2 separate regions of the Homo sapiens genome follow, and region 1 is linked to region 2. Evidence: promoter capture Hi-C in human tissues and cell types (Jung and others, 2019). All regions are on one chromosome and are shown on one strand. Each heading gives the region's core, a stretch centred on a gene start or on the middle of the fragment in contact. The rest is flanking DNA. Distances are from core to core; before and after follow the strand shown. Region 1 overlaps RNF220 (ring finger protein 220). Region 2 holds the start of CDC20 (cell division cycle 20).

The links. Contacts are between HindIII fragments. The study calls those that stand out against the background at their distance.
Region 1: a contact is called between a fragment that was not itself captured here and the fragment with the promoter of CDC20 in region 2, in 1 of the 25 tissues and cell types used here (hippocampus).

What each region holds. Positions count from the first base shown.
Region 1 is chr1:44,414,077-44,418,930 of GRCh38, forward strand. The region is part of intron 2 of RNF220 (ring finger protein 220); the gene reads left to right. Among named protein-coding and RNA genes, the nearest start is that of RNF220, 11 kb to the left of the region's middle. The HindIII fragment of the contact is 3,748 bases long and covers 1-3,721 here.
Region 2 is chr1:43,355,911-43,361,070 of GRCh38, forward strand. CDC20 (cell division cycle 20) reads left to right here and starts at 3,071. Exons shown (of 11, transcript NM_001255.3): 1 at 3,071-3,096; 2 at 3,257-3,486; 3 at 3,580-3,728; 4 at 3,815-3,911; 5 at 4,059-4,187; 6 at 4,283-4,479; 7 at 4,589-4,683; 8 at 4,823-5,051. The coding sequence starts at 3,306. CDC20-DT (CDC20 divergent transcript) reads right to left here and starts at 2,763. Exons shown (of 4, transcript NR_183650.1): 1 at 2,640-2,763; 2 at 2,132-2,198; 3 at 1,893-1,990. RefSeq lists enhancers at 1,840-2,348, 2,460-2,519, 2,859-3,367 and silencers at 2,810-2,919, 3,110-3,259. The HindIII fragment of the contact is 17,818 bases long and covers 1-5,160 here.

The DNA of each region.
Region 1 (4,854 bases), core at 598-3,097, 1.1 Mb after region 2:
GCTGCTGGCTGACAGCACTACTGCTAGTGTTGCCCTCTCACTTTGGCTTTGGTTCTCTTTCACCTTTTCAGTTTCTGTTGACTTGTGTGTCTTGTGATCCTGCTTCTTGGATATACCTGCTGAACAGGTATCGGCATTGTGTTGGTTCATTTGATTTTATTTTAGTTTTCATTTGTCCAGTGATGTGCAAGTGATCAAGGCTAGTTATAATGTGACCTCCAGCCAAAACTGCCTTGTGTTAGGGTGTGACAGATTCCGCCCCTTTTTTTCTCCAAATACAAGTTGAAAATGAAATCTTCTCTTAGCTAATATGCCACAAAGTAACATCTGGAGATTGAGATCTCTTTCTTCTTACCTAACAGATCCAGCTTGTCTCCATTTTTCTATCTTTTTAGCCCAAACCTGTATCCGACTCCAGAGCAGGAGGAAGCTTGTTAGTCAAGTCAGAACTCATAGACGTGGATATCCATTCCCCTCTGAGTGTCAAAGCCATAACTCTTCTGTTTGCCTGGTTTGCATTGTGTGGTGGTGGCATCCCCCATGGAGATGGATCCCTCACACAGGAGTACGCCTGGGTGGAGAAAAATTAAATGAGTCTGTCTCCCAAAGTGAAATGGAATTCTGACCTTGAAATTAATGAGATTCTGATCAGAAGGGTGGGGAAACTTCTTTATTTCCAATGCGGTGTTATACAAATTGGAGTCCCTTTCCTCTTTTATTCATTTAAAATAGTCTTCCCTTATAGAGTACCCTGTGTTCTCCTTTTTTTTTCTTGTACACAAGCATAAAACCTATAGGAGTGTCTGTGAGGGGAGGGTGTTCGTACACCCTCGTTATTATCCAGAGTTGCATTTGTGACTAATCTTTAATAAAAAACAAAGGTGCAAAGTGAAAAGGAGGCTGTGCTACCCTGTGGTCACCCTGGAGTTGTGCTTTTTACTCCCTTCCTTACCTTAGGTGGTTAGCACATCCCTCACTGGGTCATACTAGATAGCGTTTGTGCTTTTGATTGCGAATTTTTGGAAGGCAGGAGAAGTATTTTTCTGTAAGGAAGGGTTGAAGAGGCACTAAGACAAAGTCTGCAGCAGCTTTCTTGGCTCCTGTCATATGCCGACGTGTGTCGGAATATTTATGGTCTGTTTTATGTAAATACATATTTAAGGGTCGTTAGAAGGCCTGATTATTCCCACTAGATGCCTTTCAGGTCCTCCCTACAGAACCGTTTTGAAATAAGTAATATTTCTCAGATAATCGAGTGACAGTATACAAGACTGCTTCCAAAGGGAGAGAAAGCTTCAGGGGCAGATGGGGGCAGTGACGGGGTATGGGGATATGAAAAGACAGAGGATAGAAAGTGTTCAGACGAGCAGAGTGATAGGATACAGTGCTTTCGCCAGATTGCCCAAATTAACCATATATGGTTGATATACACACACACACACACACACGTGTATATATGTATATATATTTATTCTTAAAATTTAGAGTTAATTGCTGATATGGTTGACTCATTTTTCAGTTCTCTTCATATAAATATCTTTTCATAAAATATTTTTTAAATGTTTTAATTAAGTGCAGCAGTCAAACTCCGAAGTAAGCATTTAGCTTTAGAGTTTTGTTGGTGGGTGGGGGTGGGAGATGAGAATGGTGGTGTGTGTCCTTTACTTAGAGCAGAAGTTTTTATGACTGAGTTTTAGGTCATTAAGAAATCAGTTGTATAATGGAAACACTGACAGTTTTTACTGCTGCAGCCACCCCCTGCTCACACACTACATCAATCTGCAGATATGTCCACTTGTGAGCCCACTGGAAAGAGAGGCCTGCAGACATGGTGTAATGCACACATGTTCTTTCCTTAAATCTGGGTACTGGTAGGCAGGATTTCTTTTGTGGTTAAACATGCATTTTTATAGACAGAAATATAGCGATTTGGGTCAAGCATCATCTTTCCTGATAGATGATTCTGGTTTGCTTGCCTGTCCATCCACCTGGCTTCACAGGTGATTCCTGAGGGAGGTGTTGTGCTCTATGGAAAAACAAGCAGCCTTTACTCTGCAGGACTGACTTACTTGCCCTGGAAAATGGGAGAAGTGTTTTGTGAGAAGCCATTCATGGAGGATGCATAATTCCCCAGGAAGGAGACTGAGGTAACTCCTGCTTATTGTCACTCCTTGAATCAGTCCCCAAGACTCATTGTCCAGGGAAATAATGCTAAAATTTACGGACCAATTACAAGTAGTTCACGTGTGCTTTACATATGAAATGTCTACAGCCATGTTTCCCAGGGCCTTTAAAATAAACATTTCCTCATTAAGGAAACTTCACAACAAAAGGGAAGATAAGTATTGTCTGCTGTCTTGTGTTAGAATCTGTACATTTATTACCCCCTTAGCACTCTGGCTCCTGTCATGTGCATATCCTGATGGTCCTCTTCAGGCTGCCCCTGTGCCCAGATTCCTGCCTGTGTGACACAGTCTTTGGCCAGCCTGCCAGCCTATCCACTCAGCCCAGATTGGAGTTGGCGAAGTATACATGCTCACCACAGGGCTGAGAGGGCCCAGAACTGCCCGCGTGGAGCGGCGACTGGCCCTGTCTTCTGGCTTACCCCAGGGATGGACCCTGGGCACTGACCACACGTGGCTTGGCTTTGCCCTCTTTCCTTGACCTTCACTGTGGTCGGGCAGAGTCACAGGTAGGCAGGAAACCTGATGGCTCACAGCAGCTCCTGGATGTTCTGCTTTGCTCTCATCTTTGATGTACTTGAACAGCCATTCTTGGGTCCCAAAAGCCCTGAGTAGGAGATGGTATTTTGTACTCTGTGTCTTTATATAAAGGCATGTATCATTGAAGACCCTGTGTTCTAACAATCAAATCAGCTGAGCCCACCTAGGCCAAAGGCAGCCTGGAATGGGGAGGGCTGGGGTGAGGGGGGATACTTTCCAAGGGCTCTGGGACTGGGGTGGGCAGGGACTCTACACTGGGCTTTTAGGAGAGTTGTTCTTGCTAGGGAGAATGTTTGGGGCATGCCAGGTGGCCAGGCTGCACCTCTGGGTTGCAGCTGGGACAGATGACCACTGGGAAAGGGTCAGCAAATCGCCAGAAGACCTGGGTCAGATGCTTCCCTCTGTCCTGACTGCCCAGACCTAGCCTGACTCTCCCTCAGCTGCTCCCGGGTTCTCCCCTACTCCCCGGGGGCAAGAACTCCTGTGATGTGTGTGGTTGTTTCTGGTTGTTCACTCCCAACACAGTCATGGAGACTCTTTTTCATGCTGCTGGGTTTAATTGTCTTGTTGGGATAAAGAAATGTTTGCACAGCTAAAGTGGGGCCAGGCTGGACGGGAGCAGTCCCTGATGGCTGCAGAGCCATCTGGCCTGGCTTGGCTTGGCTCGGCGCGCCGCTCGCCTGGCGGCTGGGCTCGCTGTAGTTGTGCTCCCGCTCTTCCCCTGCCCTCGCTCCACGCCGCGCCGCTCTGTGCGGCGGCTGCCTCCTCTTACGGCCGGAATGCCTAATCACCATGGTGAGAAAACGGACACCGCAGCCGTCCTCCCTCCTCGCCCCGCGCCCTCCCTCCCATCAATTGTCATGCAGAAGTGATCCGGGCTGCCGTTTTCTCGCGGCCGCCCGCCAGCCCCTCGCCGCTGCCGGCAGAAGGGTGGCTGGTAATTGATCTTCTGGGGGAGGGGGCGCGGAGAGGCGCGAGAACTGGCCCCGGGGAGGCCAGGCCACGGGGTGGGCCCCGTTCGCTTACTTGCAAGGGACCCCCAGCCTCCGCCACCGAGGCGGCTTGCAAGTGGTTTCAGAAATGTTGGTGATCTCGCCGTCGCTCTGCAGCACTTGGAGGCCGCAGGAGGACTCCGCGCGCCGCCTCGAGGGCCGGGAGCGCCCAGCCCGCGGCCGCACACACGAGGGCCCGTCGCGCCCCCCGCCCTGCCCCGCCTCGCCCTCCACGTCCCTGCACCCCCAAGTCGCACTAAGAACCCAGTCCCCGATCGGTTTCCTCTACGCCGTCTGAGCAGAAGAGAGTGGGAACCGGGGTGACGGATAAGGGGGGGGCGCCCACGCGACGTCGGGGTGCATGGGAGCGCGCGGGAGGCGCTAGTGGGTGCACGGGGCGTGAGGGGGACACAGCGCGGGCGTGGGGATGGCCACTGCGCGGGGAGGGTTCTGCCTGGAGAAGGAGGGATGGGAGGAGGTTGGGGGAGCAGGGCGCGTGGAGGAGGGAGGTTGGACGTGTGTACAGCGCCTGGGGACCTCGCTGGCCCCTTGGTGCCCCCAGGACTCTGAGGCTTCTCCTTTCGGCTTGAAATGTTTTTCCCTTCCTGCTTTTCAAATCTGTAAAAATGTTCCGGGGAATGTTTCCGAAGTCCAGGGCTCCGTCCTTCGGCGGGATTGCTGGCATTCGGGCAAGGCGAGTCGCGGTGGCCTCTGAGGCTCGCAGCCAGCACAGCGGGGCTCGTTAAAGTCTGGGCAATTTCTGGAACTCTTCCCACGGGAAGTTTTCCGGGGCTGCCTTCCGGTCAGCGGCCCCAGGTTGATTATTTGGTGGCCCTTTTTTGTTTGAAAACAAAAAAAAAAACACACACACATTGTATCCAAATAACAAAAGTTGCTGTCCCTCCCCACCCCCTTTCCTCATTAGGCAGGGAAGAGGAAACTGAAAAATAGAATTATATTTTTATATTGGTTTTCTTATTTTTAACCCTTATTAACTACATCCATCTGGTTAATAAATATTGGCACACATTGAAATGTATTCTTTGTAAATAATTGAGATTTGGAGTGACAGCATATTTAATGGAGTTATATTTTTATAATAGTTTTTCTTATTTTTAACTCTTATTAACCACATCCAT
Region 2 (5,160 bases), core at 1,821-4,320:
TTTTTTTAGAGACAAGGTGATACTATGTTGCCCAGACTGGTCCCAAACTCATGAGCTCAAGCAATCCTCTGGCCTTGGCCTTCCAAAGTGCTGGGATTACAAGTGTAAGCCACCACACCCAGCCAGATGTTGAAGTCTTAACTCCCAGTACTTCAAATACGACCTTATTAGGAAATAGGGTCATTGCAGATATAATTAGTTAAGATGAGGTCAGGGCCCTAGTTCAATATGATTGGTATTCTTATAAAAAGAGAAAATTGGACACACATACACACAGAAAGAAAGCCAAGTGAAGATGAAGGCAGAGAACAGGGCGATTCTTCTATAAGCCAAGGAATGACAAAGATTGCCGGCAAACCACCACCAGAAGCCAGGAGAGAGGCATGGAACAGATTCTTCCTCACGGTTCTCACACAACTCTCATGACACCTTGATCTGGAACTTCTAACCTCCAGAATTGTGAGACAACCAATTTCTGTCATTTAAGCCAGTTTGTGGTACTTTGTTACAGTAACTCTAGCAAACGAATATAGAGGATATCAGGGGATGGGCTACACAAGTCACCTATACTTGCCGGCTTCCCGTTCTCCCTATTTCATTCTTTCCGCAACTCCTCCAAAATGGATCTCAAGCACCCACTTTCCTGATCCTGCTCTCTCCAAAGTCATCGGTAATTTGATTTTCAATGGCCAAATCTGACCCTTTCTGTCATCATTCCACTTGACTACATATATTAGGGTATCTCCCACTTCAAGATCCATGTCTGGATAATTTCCATTGCCTTCCTTCATTCATTTATTATTATTATTATTTTGAGACAAAGTCTCCCTCTGTCACCCAGGCTAGAGTGCAGTGGCGCGACCTCGCTCACTACAACCTGCGCCTCCCAGGTTCAAGCGATTCCCCTGCCTCAGCCTCCCAGGTAGCTGGGATTACAGGTGTGCACCACCACACCTGGCTAATTTTGTACTTCTAGTAGAGACAGGGTTTCGCCACATTGGCCCGACTAGTCTTGAACTACTGACTTCAAGTGATCTGCCCGCCTTGGCCTCCCAAAGTGCTGGGATTACAGGAGTGAACCATGACAACCTGCCCAAATCCTTTATTTTTAAATGTACAAATTCCCTGAGGCTATACCCTTTATCCTTCTCTATAGCTACCACCAGAAGTTGCAAATTATTGCCATATCCCCCCCCTCAGATGTTTTATTTGGTCCTTCCCTACACAGAAACCCCACAGGTACCACAATGCCTAGCAGATGAAGTCCAAAGTCTTTAGCTTAACATTTAAGACCCTGACCAACTTGACATGAGACAACCTTTTCTATGTTTTCTGGGAATTCCCCACCTCTAACCTAAGCATATCCAATTCCTTATTTTCCAAGGTAATTGGAAATAGAGAATGCAAAGGCTTCAAGTCAAAGATAATAACATTATCTGTAAGCATCGGAGTGGACTTTAAGCTAATGACTGAAAATGATTTTTCCAGCCTCTTTCTGGGACAGTATAGCGTATTGTTTAGATTGCAGGGATTAGTCAGATAGTTTGAATCCTGGGCTCCCCTACTTATTATTGGCTGCATGCCTTTGGGCAAGTTTCTAATCTTTCTGACCCAGTTTCTTTTTTCTGTAAAGGGAAGATGGGGTATCTATCTGCCTTATGGGATTAAGGATTGAACTCGATAATGTATGTAAACTTTTTTTTTTTTTTTCAGACAGAGTATCGCTCTGTTGCCCAGGCTGGAGTGCAGTGGCTCGATCTCGGCTCACTGCAAGCTCCGCCTCCCGGGTTCACGCCATTCTCCTGCCTCAGCCTCTCGAGTAGCTGGAACTACAGGCGCCCGCCACCAAGCCCGGCTAATTTTTTGTATTTTTAGTAAAGACGGGGTTTCACCGTGTTAGCCAGGATGGTCTCGATCTTCTGACTTCGTGATCTGCCCGCCTCGGCCTCCCAAAGTGCTGGGATTACAAGCGTGAGCCACCGCGCATGGCCTGTAAATTGTTTTAACACAGTAGTTAGATGGTCCATAAATGGTACCATTATTACTTTTATGATTGCTGCTCCACCTCTGAGCACATTCATACAATTCACTCAAGTCATTATTAGAGCACTAGATTGAGTGCGAGTCAGACCTGGATTCCCACAAACTTCTTTGTATGACCTCGGGCACATCCCTTCCCTGGGCCTCCGTTTCTCCATCTGTAAAATATGGATTTGTTGTCGGGGTGGGGAGGCTGCACCACGCACAGGTTAGACTAATGGATCTCTAAGGTCCTCACATCTTTAAAGCCCCAAGGGGATAAGCCACAGTGCCTCCTGTAGGGCAGTCTAAGCTTATCTTCCAGATAGGCAGGTTTGAATACCGATCCTTTTTCTTGACCTTAAGGAATTCATTCACCCTTTTCAACCTCATTTTCCCTGTTTGTAAAACAACAGCAAACGAGACAAACACACGTTACTTCCTTTCTAGCAGGGTTCCTACCCGGCGCCAAGCAAAAGTGGAATGTACCCTAAGTAGCTCTGGCCTTCTTCCTGCTCCCAAGCTTCCCAATTCCGTCCCCTGCCCCGCTGCCGCCCGCGGCTCTCCTTCCCCTTCTAGGAACGGCTCAAGCGCCTTGGGCACTCCATCGGGTTCTGCACCGAGTTCTGCATCATAAATACGACTCTCGTGTAGGATTTAAGTGTGAACTTCTGCAGGTTCTCGGACCCTGAAGCACCCGGGGCCAGACATTCCGAGCTCGCGGCGGTGGAAGGCACGCAAAAGGGCGAACCGAGACGACTCCAGGACGCTGAGGCAGCGCAGGCCCCACCCGGCCCCGCCCTGCCCCGCCCTGTCCCGGCCGGCTTTCCAGTACTAGTCCTCTGGCGCCGGCTCCCAGCCCCTCTCGTACCCTTCAAATCGCGCTCCGCCGCTAGACTCTCGTGATAGCTGAGACTTTCCCCGGAAGGCCCGCCCCCTTCGCCGGAGAGGCCAATGGGCTAGGGCAACGGTTGCGACGGTTGGATTTTGAAGGAGCCAATAGGCGCTCGGAGCGGAGAGTTTAAGAGGCGTAAGCCAGGCGTGTTAAAGCCGGTCGGAACTGCTCCGGAGGGCACGGTGAGAGGTGGTGGGGCTGAGCCGAGGTGGGGCCGTGGCCAGGGGGAGGGGGTGCTAGGCCGGAAGGGGCTGCAGCCGAGGGTGGCCCTGATTTTGTGGCCGGCCAGGAGCGAAGGGGTCCCTTTCTGTCCCCTGAGCACCGTCGCCTCCTTTCCTCCAGGGCTCCGTAGGCACCAACTGCAAGGACCCCTCCCCCTGCGGGCGCTCCCATGGCACAGTTCGCGTTCGAGAGTGACCTGCACTCGCTGCTTCAGCTGGATGCACCCATCCCCAATGCACCCCCTGCGCGCTGGCAGCGCAAAGCCAAGGAAGCCGCAGGCCCGGCCCCCTCACCCATGCGGGCCGCCAACCGATCCCACAGCGCCGGCAGGACTCCGGGCCGAACTCCTGGTCAGTGAGGTGCCAAAGGAACTGAGTGAGAGCAGCCTTCATACTTTCTCCCTGGGGAGCCTGGTCAGACTGTCTTCTCTTTCTCCGCCCCAGGCAAATCCAGTTCCAAGGTTCAGACCACTCCTAGCAAACCTGGCGGTGACCGCTATATCCCCCATCGCAGTGCTGCCCAGATGGAGGTGGCCAGCTTCCTCCTGAGCAAGGAGAACCAGCCTGAAAACAGCCAGACGCCCACCAAGAAGGTATGTGTCCCAGAGGGGCTTAAGGCACGGGACCTGACTGTTCTTTGGATAATACCATCTTGCTCCTTCACTACCCTTTATGCCAGGAACATCAGAAAGCCTGGGCTTTGAACCTGAACGGTTTTGATGTAGAGGAAGCCAAGATCCTTCGGCTCAGTGGAAAACCACAAAATGCGCCAGAGGGTAAGACCCGAAGTTCCTGGTTCCTGGAGGGAGGTGTCAGTTCATCTCCAGGGCTGAGCACAGATATCTGTCTCCTCTTCCTATCTAAGATTGAGGGCAAGGGAGGTGTTGATTTTCCCAGCGTCTAGACTCACTCCGTTGCCACAGGTTATCAGAACAGACTGAAAGTACTCTACAGCCAAAAGGCCACTCCTGGCTCCAGCCGGAAGACCTGCCGTTACATTCCTTCCCTGCCAGACCGTATCCTGGATGCGCCTGAAATCCGAAATGACTATTGTAAGTGCATCCTTATCCTCGCCTCATGCATGGAGAAAGAGGGCCTGGGACCACACAAACAAGGAAGCTCATGCTCTTCTCTCCACCTCTGACAGACCTGAACCTTGTGGATTGGAGTTCTGGGAATGTACTGGCCGTGGCACTGGACAACAGTGTGTACCTGTGGAGTGCAAGCTCTGGTGACATCCTGCAGCTTTTGCAAATGGAGCAGCCTGGGGAATATATATCCTCTGTGGCCTGGATCAAAGAGGGCAACTACTTGGCTGTGGGCACCAGCAGTGCTGAGGTGCAGGTGAGACGTGTCCAGTGCTGTCATTCTCACCAGTCCCAATGGGCTTGCACAGCTGGAGGATATTAATGCCAAGTCCCAATCTCTGATCCTAGTGGGCTTCTCTCTCTAGCTATGGGATGTGCAGCAGCAGAAACGGCTTCGAAATATGACCAGTCACTCTGCCCGAGTGGGCTCCCTAAGCTGGAACAGCTATATCCTGTCCAGGTCAGTGGTTTTTGTTGGTCTATGGTAGTCTGATATTTGCCCACCCTCCCCTTGACTGTACACCCCTGAACTGAACCAGCTCTGGCTTGCTTGCATTTGGTGCTGCCACAGAACCTGATTCCCTTCTTTCCTCCTCCAGTGGTTCACGTTCTGGCCACATCCACCACCATGATGTTCGGGTAGCAGAACACCATGTGGCCACACTGAGTGGCCACAGCCAGGAAGTGTGTGGGCTGCGCTGGGCCCCAGATGGACGACATTTGGCCAGTGGTGGTAATGATAACTTGGTCAATGTGTGGCCTAGTGCTCCTGGAGAGGGTGGCTGGGTTCCTCTGCAGACATTCACCCAGCATCAAGGGGCTGTCAAGGTGAGTAGGGTTGGGCTGAAGCCTCTGCAGACCCTCACCTATAATCTGGGGACTGTTAAGGGGAGAAGGGATGGTAGGATTGGACTGGGTTAATCTGTGACCCCTAGAG